Linked DNA regions of Homo sapiens: all the other regions are linked to region 1. The links are contacts of gene promoters, found by promoter capture Hi-C in human tissues and cell types (Jung and others, 2019). All regions are on one chromosome and are shown on one strand. Each heading gives the region's core, a stretch centred on a gene start or on the middle of the fragment in contact. The rest is flanking DNA. Distances are from core to core; before and after follow the strand shown.

Region 1 (2,865 bases), core at 268-2,767:
GCTCAAGCAATCCTCCAACTTCAGCCTCCCGAGTAGCTGGGACTACAGATGCGCACCACCATGCCCTGCTAATTTTTGTAGAAATGGGGTCTCCCTATGTTGCCCAGGCTGATCTCCAACTCCTGGGCTCAAGCCTCAGCCTCGACAACCCCATCTGCTGAGATTATAGGTTGTGAGTCACTGTGCCAAGCCCAACAGCTTTTTTAAGGATTCAAGACTGTACGAACATAGTTGTAGCTGGTCAAAGATTAAAAGGTGCTATGCAAGAAAAAAGAAATCCACAAAATTAGTTCTTGGAATGGAACTGAGGCACCTGTCAAGAAAGGGTTCCTCAAGAAAGGAGCATCTAGCTAGGGTGTGGTAGCTCACGCCTGTAATCCCAGCACTTTGGGAGGCTGAGGTGGGCGCATCACCTGAGGTCAAGAGTTTGAGACCAGCCTGCCCAACATGGCGAAACCCCATCTCTACTAAAAATACAAAAATTAGCCAGACGTGATAGTAGGCGCCTGTAATCCCAGCTACTTGGAGGCTGAGGCAGGAGAATTGCTTGAACCCGGGGAGTCTGCAGTGAGCTGAGGGCCATTGCCCGCCAGCCTGGGCAACAAGAGAGAGAAACTCCGTCTCTCAAAAAAAAAAAAAAAAAAGAGAAATCCAGAGAAGAAATGATGGTGTTTTGAGATGGAGTCTTCCTCTGTCGCCCAGGCTGGAGTGCAGTGGTGCGATCTCAGCTTACTGCAAGCTCTGCCTCCTGGGTTCAAACGATTCTCCTGCTTCAGTCTCCTGAGTAGCTGGGATTAGAGGCGCGCACCACCACGCTCGGCTAATTTTTGTATTTTTAGTAAAGACGGCGTTTCACCATGTTGGCCAGGCTGGTCTCGAACTCTTGACCTCAGGTGATCCGCGTGCCTCGGCCTCCCAAAGTGCTGGGATTACAGGCGTGAGCCACTGCGCTCGGCCAGAAGGAACTGGTTTGACAGGATCCTTAGGACTTGGAGACTGGACGAGGGGCCCAGGAAAATGTAGGGGCCGAGGTCGCCGCCCAATTTCCCATTTGGAAGCTCGGTTGCCTGGTGGCGCATGCCCTAGATGGAGGTTAGGAGCACCTTTTGGGGGACGGTGATGACTGCGGGTTGACACGCGAGTGTGAGCCACCCGTGGAGAACGCAAGACATGTTCAACAGGGCGCTGGATGGAGGGGGCTGGCGCCCAGAGTCAGTCCTGCTATTCAGCAGTGTTGGGCTCAGGTGAACCGCAGCGCCAGGGCGGGCACCGATCCTAGGGTCCCACGAACAGGCCCCTCGGAGGCCAGGGAGAGCCCTGAATGACGCGTTCTCTCGGGTGGCCTGGGGGGGGCATCCCGCGGCTTCCTCCACCGGCGTAACGTGCCGGGCCCGGGGAAAGGAGCCGCCCGCCGGTCCCCGGAACCTTCTGCCGCCGCCGCCCGCGTTAGCCGCGGGACGGGTCGGGGGAACCCGATCGCTGTTGCTAAGGGGCGGCCCCGGAAGTGACGCGCCCCGGGTTTGTTGACAGCGGAGGCGGCGGCGGCTGCAGGCTCCGAGCCGTAGGAGCCGGATCGGGGGAGGGGCCGGGCCCAGGAGCCTCAGCCCCGCCGGCAGCCCTAAGGGCAAGGTAACCGCCACGGGGTCCCCGTCGCGACCCCCTCCCTCCCGGAGCTCCCGTCCCCGGGATCCCAAGCTCCGCCCCGCCGACCCCCGTCTCCCCTGGACCCCGGCTCTAGCCTGACGAGATCCCCAACCTCCTGAGGTGCTCTGGCCCCGGATTCTCCCGGGCTGCATTCTCTGCTCCTCCTCGCCTGCGAAGCATCACGTCCGCTTCCCGACGCTGAGGGCAGCCCCGTCCAGGGTAGGTCCCGGACCCCGGGCCAAGGGACGTACCTGCGTCCTCCTCCTTCGCCTCCTGCCTACGGGGCCTAAGCATCGCCGCTGCAACCACTCTCTGAGGTCCATCTCCGCCAGTGGTGGGAGGGTTCCTTTCTCTATCCCTGCCGCCAGGTCTGAGAATCGTGTCTTTAAAACTGAGCTCCCTTCCTCCAGAAAGAAAATGACGCTCTGTCGTTTGCCCCTACAAGATGGGGGATCGGTGTAGGGCTGAAAGGGCCACCCTCTGCCCCTCCTACCTGTTGGATGAGCTTAAGTTCCCCCAGAGAAGTGCTTAGAAGCTCAAGGACGACTTGGATTCTGGATCAGCTCCCAAAAGGGATGACACAAAGTATAGGGAAATCCAACAGGGTGAGGTTGCAACCGGAGGGCCAAGGGAGCCCGACAGGTGAGTTGATAGTGAAACTGACTGTGCTGGCCACTATAGCTCTCTGGGTGGAACTTGTCTTGGCTGCTCTTTGACCGAAAGAGCCCAAGATTTCCAGTCTTTGCCTGTGTTTGTCAGTCCATTCGTTTTGTTTTGTTTTGTTTTTCTTTAAATAGAGATGGGGTCTCACTATGTTACCCAAGCTGGTCTCGAACTCCTGGGCTCAAGTGATCCGCCCGCTCCAGCCTCCAAAAGTGCTGGAAATACAGGCATGAGCCACCGCGCTCAGCTAGTGCATTTGATTTTTAAGGGGGAGGGGAATGGAATGTCTGATGTCTTGGGAAAATCCTTCCATATATGATCTTTCACAGAATGTTTCTCTTCAGACTTCAAACTGGTTAGGATGAGCATAAAAGCATAGCCTTGAAAAGGGTCACGGGAGGCTATACTTAGAGCAGAAAGTGGTGGCCAGGGGTGAAGGGCCTCGCTACTTTGGTTCATTTGTTCATTCAGCAAATAATAAACATGATATGTAAGGAGGTAATAAGTGGTTTGGAGAAAAATAGAGAAGGAAGGACCATGGGGAAGGAGTTGGGAGTT
Region 2 (2,865 bases), core at 128-2,627, 1.1 Mb before region 1:
ACAGGGACTCCGTATCCAGTGAGTGCACGTGCATCTGGGTTTGGCTGAACCAGTCTGCAGAGGGCAAGACTTTGAGACTTTAATATATGGCTTTTGACCAAAGATAAAACGCTGGTGCAAGAAGTCCCGAGTCTACTATTTTTTCCAGCCCAAGGAAGAGAAGAACAATCTCAGTGGAGACTGTTCCAGAGAAAACGTAAGGCATTCTAGAAATGCTGCCCTGCTTCGGAATGGTCTTCCAGAAAGGGGAACCCCAGACAGCCCCCATCGGCCCCTCCCCCTAGCCAATGAGATGTAACAGCAGCTGCAGCAGCAGCAAACATCTACTGCACTCCTACCGTGCCAGGCCCTGTGCAAACCGTGCGGCAGAGACTGACCTGCAACCAATTCCTGTTCCACCTCCTAGCTGGGTAACTTGAGGCGTGCACTGCCCCTCGGAGACTCCGCATTCTCATTTGTAAAACGAAAAACAATCTACCTCAAAGGATTGCTGGGAGAATTCAATGAGATGATGCTTTGCCCAGGGCCTGCCACATAGTAACTGCTTAATAAGAGGTAGTTCTCAAAGTAAGGGATGACACTGAGAAAAGGAAAACTACTGTTACTTAAGGGGTTCTTAAAAGTCCTAGAAGCCATTATTTATGCATTTAGGTATTTCCTAAGCGTTTGCTGATACCAGTTTTTCAAATAAACTTTATCCTCACAGCATCTTCGGGGTGGAAGGGGCAGAGGGTAGAGCGACAGACCTGCCGAAGGAGGAAAACCAGACCCGTGAAGGTCCAGGGGGGTGGCCGGCAAGCACCGAGGAGGAGTCCCCCGGCTCAAACCCTCTTGCGTGGCTTCAAAACATCAGACGCGCCTCTCCTCGCGGAGAAGCTGGGGGCCATTATTTGTGAGGCAGTCGGCGCTGGGACTCTAAGTCAGCACCGCAGAGAAGTGGTCATCTTTTGTTCCGAAAGAAAAAAACGCACGTCAGGGCTCAGAGCCCGAGGAAAGAAAAGTCAGCGCCCGAGACGCGAGACGCCACGCGGATGCTTTCAACGCTAGGTCAGGCCCCGGCAGAAATGAGAGGGGGGCGGCCCCGGTTCTGGAGAAGCCACGAGCCCCCAGGGAGCTCAGAGTGGGGTGGTGCTGGGGCCCAGAGGCCCCCCTGGGCGCCGACCGGAGGAGGGGAGAGGGGCGGCGGCGGCCGGGGGGGTCCCGGGCTCCGCTCACCGGGCCGCTGCGTCTGGCGTACCTGGCGAAGCCAGGCCCTGTCAGCCCGGAGCCGGGCTGGGGTCGCCAATGCTCAGAGGCCCGGCCCACAGAAGCAGCCGGTGGCGGCCCGGAACTCACCTGCACTCGCAACTGCGCCGCCGCCGCCTGTCAGTCAAGCGCGCCCCCTCTGAGGCGACGCGCAGGGTTGTGGGGCCGTCTGGCGACGCCCCACCTCCTTCCCTCTGCCGTCCAATCGGAAGAGGCTGACGCCAGGAGAGGGGGCGTGGCCACGCGGACTGTGCGTGCCGGGGGCGGGGCCAGACGGGGCAGGCGCTCTGACCGCTCTGCCGCGCGCCGGAAGCAGCCTGGGCCGCTGCGCAGAGGCGCGGCGGCTGTACAACTCGGCCGTTGTCACCATGCCGGTCGTCCGGAAGATTTTCCGTCGCCGCCGGGGCGACTCGGAGTCAGAGGAAGATGAGCAGGACTCAGAGGAGGTTCGGTGCGTTTGGGGCGGGGCTCCCATAGGCTTGGTAAAGATAGACTTGTTTGGGGGACTCACCACCGGCTCGGCGCTTCGCTGACATTGTTAACTGTGAGCTCGGGTGGTGGTTCCTTCTGCGGACGCAGAAATTGAGGCTCAAGGGGTGAGGCCACCGCCCCAAGCTCGAACGGTTGAGAGAGATGCCTCCGGGATGCGCAGTGGCTCTGACTCCCGGTGGGTCTAGGCACAAGGTCGTCCTCTGGACCACTGTGCTGGTGGCTCAGTAGCTGGGCTGGGATGCCCTCGAAGGTGCCTTATTGGCTCTGTTAGCTTTGGATTCCGCGGGGAATCACTCAGCTTATGCATTGCTGCTTCTTCTTCTTTTTAAAGATTAAAACTGGAAGAGACCAGAGAGGTACAGAACTTGAGGAAGAGGCCCAACGGGGTGAGGTGGGTACCACGCGGGGAGGAGGAGGAGGCGGCGGGGACGACAGACACATCCGCGTCCGGGTCGCTGTCACAAATATCTCCTCAGACGTAGATTTTTCTCTTGACACACTGTACACCTTCCACTGCCCAACTTGGAGAACAGCGTTCTTTGCAAATGTTTAACCAGGACATGCCCTGAGCTGTGTCGTCTCGGGGTGTGCTCCAGAGATACAGAAACAGATCACTAACTCGCGTTTTTTATTAAAACCAATTAATTGTGAAATGCATATCGATCGTTAAGAGTTTGTATAATTTAGAAAAGTATAGTCAAGACGATAAAAAGCACCCATAATTCTCCCATCCGGAAATGATCAGTGTTAACATTTTTTTTCCTTGCAGAGCCACCCAAGAATGCACTGGTATTAATATTGAATACTCTTTCCAATCTGTTTTTTTTCGTCTCTCTCTCTCAGATTGTGAACAACTTTCTATGTACTTTTATTCCCTGTTCTTTTCAACTCATTATGACATTGTGGGCATTCACCCATATTGTGGAATATTTTTCAGAAAGCCTTAATGGCTGCATAATATTCCACCAGATGTGTGTATTGTAATTTGTTAACAAATCCCCTATTTTGGGACATGTAGGTGATTTTGTAAATTTTTACTATCAAATAAGGCTGCAGTGGATATTCTCTTAAATTTATCTTTAGCTGCACTTTCCATGATGAGAATATCTTAGAAATGAGATTTCCAGG
Region 3 (2,865 bases), core at 167-2,666, 1.0 Mb before region 1:
GCCTAGGTGTGCGGGTCAATCTGTGCAGAGCTGGGGAGCAAGTGATCACTGGGAGCAAAGACAGCTTTCAGCCTGGAGGGAGAAGCATTTCTTCCCGCTAGGATAATGGCCAATTCAGAGGCCCTAGACCATGCTGTCCCCAGAGCCTGGGTGCATTGCTGATGACGAGATCCCAGCCGGGGGTCAGGCCTCCCAGGACTGTCAAGCTGGGCTGCTTGAGTCCCTGGCTCCAGGGGTGGGGGTGGGGCTGAATGGCAAGGGAGAGAGCTGGTCCATTCCAGGCTCCAACCTCAGAACCCTCTGGGAGTAAGATTACCCAGCCCTGTGCTCGGGCTGAGCAATCAACTATAGCGCACACGCTCCTTTACTGTGGTTCCGAGATAGTTAATTGAAATCTGGATACTCTGGGTAAAGTCAGAACATCCAGCTGGGCCCAGCATGGGAGATCAGCTTGATGAGTCTCCCGCACCCTATTCTGGGCATCAGCAGAGTCAGTTCTCTGAAGAGTCTTTTTCATATATATCACATAGATAGAGAGATAGGCAGGTTGGTAGGTAGGTAGATAGGTCAATAGGTAGGTAGGTAGGTAGTTAGACATAGGTATCTATCTATCTATCTATCTATCTATCTATCTATCTATCTATCTATCTATCTATCTATCTTACTGTAGTTTAGCACAGACATTGGTTAAGTCATGTCACTCCTCTGAACCTCAATTTTCTCATCTCTAAAATGGGGATATTAGGCCGGGCGAGGTAGCTCATGCCTGTAATCCCAGCACTTTGGGAGGCCAAGGCAGGTGGATCACCTGAGGTCAGGAGTTCAAAACCAGCCTGGCAAACATGGTGAAACCCTGTCTCTACTAAAAAATACAAAAAAAATTAGCCAGGTGTGGTGGCACGCACCTGAAGTCCCAGCTACTCGGGAGGCTGAGGCAGGAGAATTGCTTGAGACTGGGAGCCAGAGGTTGCAGTGAGCCAAGATCACACCATTGCACTCCAGCCTGGGTGACAGAGCAAGACTCTGCCTCTAAAAAATATAAAATAAAATAAAATAAAATAGAGATAATAATAGACCCACCTCCTAGGATTGCTACATGAGGGCAATGAACTGATCTACATAAAGCACCAAGCATAGTGTCTGGCAGGTAAAGTTGGCCAGTAATGTCATCAACATTGTTATATAATAATAATTATTGTCATTAATTTTATTGCCCAACTGGCGTCCCAGCCTGAGCTGAAGCTCTGTCTCTTGGCCACCCTGTCCAGGAGGTATGAGCCTGTTTTCTTGGGCCAGATCTTCTGCTTGGCTTGAAGCCAAAGTGTGACTTCCCAACCTCTGCATGCAGCCCCCTCCCCAGGGTGCTGGTTGGTCTCTCCTCTCAGCTGCTGCTGCAATGTGCTTCACAGTGACAACACACCCACAGCTCCAGTGGCAGTTGATGCATCCTTGTGGCCAGAATCATGCCTGGCAGGACGCATGTGGCAAAGGGCTTGTCTGGGTCGGTGCTATGCTCTCTGTGCCAGGGAAAATCCAGCTCTTGGAGTGGGTGAGAGCAGGGAGGCCTTCATGGTGGTGGAGTTAGGGGATGGGAGAGACAGGGAAGCAATGAGGGGCTTGCACAGAAAATATCGTTTTACCCTAAGTACCCAGATGACAAATGAGACCCAAAATGACCTTTGGCAGGGGCCGTGGCTTCTGGGGACCCCAGCGTTTGACAGAGCAGGTGGCAGAGCCGCAGGACCCAGCTCTAGTGTGTGGCAGTTTGTTGGTTTCATTGCCGTTGCTGGGCCAGACGTGCACTGAGGACCCCGGGATAAAGGGGTTTACTGTGAGGATGCTGGGGCCCAAGACCTCGTGGGCACAGGACCCAGGTGAAGACCCCAGGGCCCGTGAAGAGCCGAAGTGGATTTCACTGTAGGGGCTTCTTGTCATCCCCAGGGGTACACATTCTTGTGGCCGCTCCTGCTGCTGGCAGCCGAGTCCTTGGCCACGAGCCCAGCCTCCTCTGGGGGGTGGGTCTCAGCCCAGGCCCACATCGGGCTGTTGATTTCATTGGCTGCTGGCTGGCCTCGCCATTGGCTGCTTGCAGCCAGGTGCTCACCCCTGCCCATCAGCTGTGGCCATGGTGGTGCCAGCAGGGAGAGGAGCATGTGACTTGCACGTGAGGAGTAGCCGAAGGCTTCTTCCCTAGGGGACATGTGTCTACCTCGGGGCGATGCGTCTACCTGTGGATGGGGAGGGACCCCTTATTGGGGCCCAGGCAGGTCCGCATTCTGGGCCTTGTCCAGTACACCCTCTGGTTTCCAACCAGCCAACCAGGCTCCTGGGGGACCCACCAACCCTCCCCTTTCTTCTCCGTACTTCTCTCCTCACCTGGTAGACACACATGTCTTCATTTTGGTTCTTACGTTGAGAGACAAACCCATCCTTCCCTCCCTTTCTTCCTTCCTCCCTCCCTCCCTCCCTCCCTCCCTTCCTTCTCTCTCCCCTTCCTTCCTTCCTTTCTTTCTTTCTTTCTTTCTTTCTTTCTTTCTTTCTTTCTTTGTTTCTTTCTTTCTTTCCTTCCTTCCTTCTTTCTTTCTTTCTTTGTTGGTTTCTTTCTTTCTTTGTTTCTTTCCTTCCTTCTTTGTTTGTTTGTTTCTTTGTTTCTTTCTTTCTTTCTTTTTTCTTCCTTTCTTTCTTTCTCTCTGTCTCTCTTTCTCTCTTTCTTTTCTTTCTTTCTTGCACCTAGGTTGGAGTGCAGTGGCATGATCATGGCTCACTGCAGCCTCGACCTCCCAGCCTCAAGTGATCCTCCCTCCTCAGCCTCCTAAGTAGCTAGGACCACAGACATACACCACCATGCCTGGCTATTTTTTTTTT

The links. Contacts are between HindIII fragments. The study calls those that stand out against the background at their distance.
Region 2: the fragment with the promoter of USP20 here is called in contact with the fragment with the promoter of ZER1 in region 1 in 1 of the 25 tissues and cell types used here (dorsolateral prefrontal cortex).
Region 3: a contact is called between a fragment that was not itself captured here and the fragment with the promoter of ZER1 in region 1, in 1 of the 25 tissues and cell types used here (dorsolateral prefrontal cortex).

Annotation. Positions count from the first base shown.
Region 1 is chr9:128,770,579-128,773,443 of GRCh38, reverse strand. ZER1 (zyg-11 related cell cycle regulator) reads left to right here and starts at 1,517. Exons shown (of 16, transcript NM_006336.4): 1 at 1,517-1,863. It overlaps LOC124902282 (a long non-coding RNA gene), which reads right to left and starts at 2,110. Exons shown (of 2, transcript XR_007061804.1): 1 at 1,896-2,110. RefSeq lists enhancers at 426-1,152, 1,881-1,930 and a silencer at 1,221-1,690. The HindIII fragment of the contact is 13,726 bases long and covers 1-2,865 here.
Region 2 is chr9:129,833,970-129,836,834 of GRCh38, reverse strand. USP20 (ubiquitin specific peptidase 20) reads right to left here and starts at 1,377. Exons shown (of 26, transcript NM_001110303.4): 1 at 1,336-1,377. It overlaps C9orf78 (chromosome 9 open reading frame 78), which reads left to right and starts at 1,560. Exons shown (of 9, transcript NM_016520.3): 1 at 1,560-1,696; 2 at 2,069-2,128. The coding sequence starts at 1,614. RefSeq lists an enhancer at 627-1,127 and silencers at 1,099-1,248, 1,279-1,628. The HindIII fragment of the contact is 7,728 bases long and covers 1,196-2,865 here.
Region 3 is chr9:129,774,167-129,777,031 of GRCh38, reverse strand. No RefSeq gene overlaps it. Among named protein-coding and RNA genes, the nearest start is that of PTGES, 23 kb to the right of the region's middle. RefSeq lists enhancers at 1-8, 1,400-1,966. The HindIII fragment of the contact is 4,926 bases long and covers 1-2,865 here.